Regions from separate parts of the Homo sapiens genome. Here region 2 is linked to region 1. The links are contacts of gene promoters, found by promoter capture Hi-C in blood cells and fetal thymus (Javierre and others, 2016). All regions are on one chromosome and are shown on one strand. Each heading gives the region's core, a stretch centred on a gene start or on the middle of the fragment in contact. The rest is flanking DNA. Distances are from core to core; before and after follow the strand shown.

Region 1 (2,699 bases), core at 140-2,639:
GCAGTCCGCCACGACCCCAGGCTGCCCAGCTTCTCCAGCCCGACTCAGCTGCGCTGGTCCTGCTCACACCAGCGCACAGTCCAAGCCAGCTAGGACGCCGGGGCCACGTCTGCACCAACCCAGCCAAGGGCTCGAGGCGCGCTGGGCCTGCACAGCCCGCGGCTGCAAGAGCACTCAGAGTGTCCTTCAACTCTTTGCAGGAAACTTCACAGCCAAGGAAGCTCAGCGGCCTGAGCCACAGGGTTTTGTTTTGTGTGTTCAGAGGCAACAGTTTATTTTGGTTTGCATCGGTGTCCTGTGACAGCGCAGCGAGTTTCTCTTCAGCGAAAGAAAAGAAAAAAGCCCTCTCCCAGTGAAACGGGACACCACGGTTCCCAGTGGCCCAGGGCCTTGGAGATTGAACTTTGCTGCAGCTCTCATTCTGGGGCAAAGCGCTTGGCCAGCTGGTGACAAAAGAGCCTGTCTGCAGGTGTGTTTGGGGAGCTGGGGAGGGGGCGTGTGAGGCTCGGAGGGTCCCTGGGCCTCTCTCAGGTGAACCCGAGAAGAGACAGGAAGACAGCGGCTGGACGCGCGCCCAGGTCCGCGTCGCTGCGGACCGCGGAGCTGTGCAGAAGCGCGGCCTGGCGGGTGGCACAAGCCCGACAGCTGCGCCGCGCAGCCCGCCCGCGCCTGGCCAAGAGCCCCGCGAGGGTGTGGGGAGAGGATCGGCTTCGCAGGGAGCGGAGGCTGCGCGGCTGCATCGGACCTCACAGCCTCAAGTCGCGGCATGAGGCGAACTTTGCAAAGCGCGCTCTCGCCATGCACCGCCCGACCTCCAGCACTGTGCGCAGCAGGACCTCGGAGCCCATTCGCCTGTGGAAACCGAGCCCGCAGCGGGAAGGCAGTGGGTGGAGGGTGGGCAGGCAGGGGTCTGGGGTCCGCGGCTCCCCACCCTCGCGCCTTCCCGCGCCAGTCCCGAACGCTCTCTTGGGGCGTTCCTGCCCAGTTGTCCCGGCTGACCTCGCTCTGCAGCCAGCTTGAGGTCAGGCGGTCGCTCTCTGCAGGTCACAAACCCTCGGCGCAAAAGTAGGGCTTTGAACGCGACACCGCACCAGAGCGCCCAGCTAAGCGAGCTGCCTCCACCCCCACTGTGTCGGGCGGCGCAAACTGCGGGCGCAGGCAGAGGAGCCGCGGCTCTGCGCCGGGCGGGAGCCGAAGCCCAGAGCCTCGCCAGGGCCTCCCCGCCGAGCGCACTTACCGTCGCTGAGGCAGAGCGCGGTCAGCACGAGGACCAGCACGACCACGACCTTGGCGTTCATGGCGCGGGCGGGCGGGCGGGCGGGCGGACGAGCGCGGGTCGGGGGCCGGACGCCGAGCGGGCAATGCGGCTGACGGAGAGTGAAAGTGCGGCGGTGGGAGGCGCGCGCCGGGCGCTTTAGAGGGGAGAGCCAGGCGGGGCGGGGCGGGGCGCGCGGTGAGGGGCGGGCCCGGAGCCGAGTGCTGGCCGTGGCCGGGGTCTCTGACGCGCGACTCCCTCGGCGGCACCCCCCACCCATCCCCTTCGCCCCTCCTCCGCTCCCTCTGTGCTCCCGAGGCGCAGTGCGCTCCGGCCTTTGACCTTCTCAGGCTCCGCTGGGCCCCGCACCGCTGGCCCGGTCTGCAGTGAGGTCCGCAGCCTGAGCGACGCCGGCTGGAGGGCCGCTTATTGTCCCTGTGACAGGGCCCCACTGGAGAGACTGAGGACCTTAGGCGTAAAGTGGGGCGCGCGTGGAAAGCTGCGGGACGGGGCCTTTCGATGGCGGGAACTGAATGAGAACCAATGAAAAGCAAACAAGTTAGTCCCGGGCGGAGGGCCTGCTGGCGGTGGCGGCCCAAGGCAGCCGAGGGGGTCCTGCTTTCTGTGCGTGGGGGCTCAAGCTCGCCACCTGCCCGGCTTGCGGCGCAGCCGCCGGCAGAGCTCGATCTGCGGGAATGAGACCCGTCTTTGCAGTCAGCGTGGCTCGGACTCCAAGCCCACGGCGCCACCAGCCGAGCCTCAGTTTCCTCGCCTGTACAAACAAAGCAGAAGGCGCCGGCGGCTCTCAGTAAAAGCGAATGTAGCCTTTGTACTTCCGACCTCTCAATGGTGAAATGAGCTAATCACAGGCCCACCCCGCGGAGTGGGACGGGAGATTCAATGAGACCCGCCCCACGCCGCGAAATTCTCTGCATCGTGTCTGACAAGCAGACAGTACTCAATAAATGGTAGCTGTAAGTAAGTCCTTTAAACCTAAGTACTTACTGCCTTACCCAAGAAAAGCTCCGTGCGACCCAAAGAGCTGAGAACTCCCCCACCCCGACCTCCGACTCCTAGGACAGTACTACTGGCGTCTGCCTTCTGGGTCCAGAAAACTCTTCCCACGGAGCCGTCCCTCGGCGGTGCTTAGCCCTCCGGATACCCCCGAGACATCCCAGATGGCCCCAGTCCGGTGGCGAAGGGAGGGTGCAGGTCGGCACCCAGGAGACGTGGGGGTGAGGAGAGCGCCCCTTTGGGCCTCGCTTTGTGACCGCAGGCTGCCCCAGCCACCTCTCTGTGTCCTTCCCAGCACAGCGTCCAGCGAAGTGGGGTCAGTCGCCGCGTCCATCCAGGGGCCTGCCCTGGGGACACGTCCCTGTCCCTGGGGAGTCCTGGCCGTCGGGGAGTGGGCGGTCAGCGGCTGCATTAGGCGGGAGCGGTCAAC
Region 2 (2,699 bases), core at 67-2,566, 580 kb before region 1:
CCAGATAGGTGGCAGGGACCGAAATACTTCACAGCTTTTCCACGGACAAAGATCAGCAATTTGTTTTTAAAATAAAAAGTCAATGTTAAAGTGAAGTTGGCATCAGGTAATTGAGATGCTATCAGGATCCTGAGTGGGGACTGAACACATGCAACCACACAGTGTAGTATTTTTAGGCAATTGCTCACTCATTTGAGAAAACACAGTGGGTAAAACTGTTTCCCTTGTGGTGACTGTTGGACTTCCTGCATTTTCAGAGGTTTTCTGTATTTTCATAGGAGTCCCATTTCCTTTTAAGAACCAGATTGCCAATGCCCCATTAGTTAGCTTTCCACTCCAACAGGCCGCTTGCTCTTTTGCCTTTCCCTCCCCTTCTCTTTTAAACCAATTAATTAAAAAGCTTTACAAAAACAATACATGCTAACGTGAAAAATTAAAGCAGTATAGAAAACTACAACACAAAAAGGAAAAGCTCCTCTGCCCTCAGCTCCTACACTCCTCAGAGGTGGCCATCATGAACATTGGCTTCTTTCTAGAACTTTTCCTGCATAGACAATCAGAGAAACATAGATTGATAGACTGATTTATGCAAAGATGGCTGAATAATGATGTTTAATGCTCTGTTACTTGCTTTTTCCTACTTAATTTATGCTAGACATGATTTCACAGCAGTTGTCAAGGAGGTCTATCACCCTTTTCAACATTTGCATTTTTTCAATTATAAATAAAAAATTAATTAATTAAGAAACACTTGCATTTGGTTCTACTGTAGAAGTGTACCATCATTTGTTTAACCAATATTCCACAGATTGACTTGTAGATTACTTCAGAGGTCTTAATATTAAATGTTCCAGTAAATATCCTCAGGCATGTGTTTTTGAAGAACAGGGCTAGTGTATCAACAGGAGATTGTTTTATAGGTCTTTATAAAATTAAACTGTTTTCACTGGTATAAAAATTTAATAATTGTCAAATAAAATGTTGCTCTTTTAAAGTTTCTTCTCATTATCAAATGACGCTTTTTTTTTTGTCTTGGTCTTCTATAAACCTGCCCTTAAGCTGTGACAAAATTAATTTAAAAAAATCGATGTTGGTCCATGGGATCCATAAATTCTTTTTATAGATCGTTTAACAGAATTCTGTGTCGTGGGCGAGGCTCCAGGCTGGTGTGCAGCGGTGCGCTCCTGGGTCTGTGAGTGGGCATTCCTCAGAATCCCCACAGCCTGACCTGCTGCCCTTTGCTGGTTTCACTTGAAGCTATTATTCCAATTGACTCACTCTTGGCTGACATCTGGATGCGTTTTATAACAGACTGTTTTCATAACTCCACAAAAAGGTTCTCAGGATTAATACTTGTTTATTTTCATTTTCCATTGGACCTTAAATTAGCTAGCAGCCAATACTGGCACAACCCCTTACTGGAAGCCATTTTACCTAAGTGGAGGGGATGGCAAATCCATCCAACCTTGGGTTTTCTGTTGCTTTAAAACCTCTTGCCAACCAACTATTCCAGAGTGGCTGTCAAATCAACCAATAGCAAAATATTTGGGAGTATTTGTCAGTTAGCTGGGGTAGAAGCAGCCAGATGTGTGGATAGGTCATACAGTTACCTTCCCCGTGTAAGTTGGGGCCAGGGTAACCCATGGACATGTGTGCATGTACAACACAGGTGCATGTACAGCCAAGCATACAGGTGCCAAGATATTTTATTGGGATATTATGTGTTTTCTTCTCTCTGTTGTAGGTATTTTTTTTTCCTCTCCCACCTGAAAATTTTTTCTTTGCTTTTTGAGATTGTACTTTCAAAGACATTCAAGACACCCAGATTTTAAATTCAGGGTGTTAATCCAGGGTTTTGTTTTTGAAGACCTGGGATCATTGAAGGGATTAAGTTAGATTTTCCTAGAGGAAAGAGGCAAGTGACTGCCTTTGAATTTAAGGATTGTCTGTATACGTGTGTGTGTGTCTGTGTGGTGGAGGAGGGGGTTGTTTGCCCTTTAACATTTGTTCTTTTAAGGTTTCTTCTCATTATCAAGTGACACTCTTTTTTTTTTGTTCTATAAACTTACCACTGAGCTGTGATAAAATTGATCATTTAAAAAAATATGTGTTGATCTGTTGTGATCTATAACTTATTTTCTTATAGATTATCATGGGCACAGCTCAAGGCTAGTGGTACAAGAGCACCCCTTCCCAGCAAATTAAAAAGCCTGTTATTTTTGCAAAAGCATTAGAAGCTTTCAACAATGTTGTCAAGAGCCTTTCTTAACTCTTTGGTGACTGGTCTGAGTCAGTCACAGGTGGAAGGTGTGATGTGATCAGACAGGCCCTGACATTTCTTGTGAACTCATGAAATCCTGCATCTTTTCCAAATGTGCAATTTTGTTTTTGAAATTAATTTTTATTATCTTCACATTGTGTTGGATGATCAGAGGATTATAATTATTCCCTGCCCCAGGGGAGAGTATTGCAAAGGTACATAGGGCATGAACGTGGGGAGGGCAAGAAGTGTGCCCAAAGCGTGCTATAGCACAGTGTGTGTTCCACTCCTCATACAGCAATGAACTGGTGAAGGAGTTAAAATCTTAATGATTTCCAAATGATCAACAGTTTTTAAAAACATAAATATGCAGCATGAGAGCCTACATTTGTACAAGTGTATGGTTGTGTGTGTGTGTGTGTGTGTGTGTGTATGAACA

The links. Contacts are between HindIII fragments. The CHiCAGO score rates a contact against its expected background, and 5 or more counts as called.
Region 2: a fragment that was not itself captured here is called in contact with the fragment with the promoter of CXCL12 in region 1 in 1 of 17 cell types (neutrophils); the score reaches 5.1 in neutrophils.

Annotation. Positions count from the first base shown.
Region 1 is chr10:44,383,708-44,386,406 of GRCh38, forward strand. It overlaps CXCL12 (C-X-C motif chemokine ligand 12), which reads right to left and starts at 1,390. Exons shown (of 3, transcript NM_199168.4): 1 at 1,238-1,390. The coding sequence starts at 1,298. RefSeq lists enhancers at 1-333, 334-1,025. The HindIII fragment of the contact is 14,357 bases long and covers 1-2,699 here.
Region 2 is chr10:43,808,137-43,810,835 of GRCh38, forward strand. All of the region lies in intron 2 of LOC105378275 (a long non-coding RNA gene), which reads left to right. Among named protein-coding and RNA genes, the nearest start is that of LINC02658, 31 kb to the left of the region's middle. The HindIII fragment of the contact is 1,837 bases long and covers 399-2,235 here.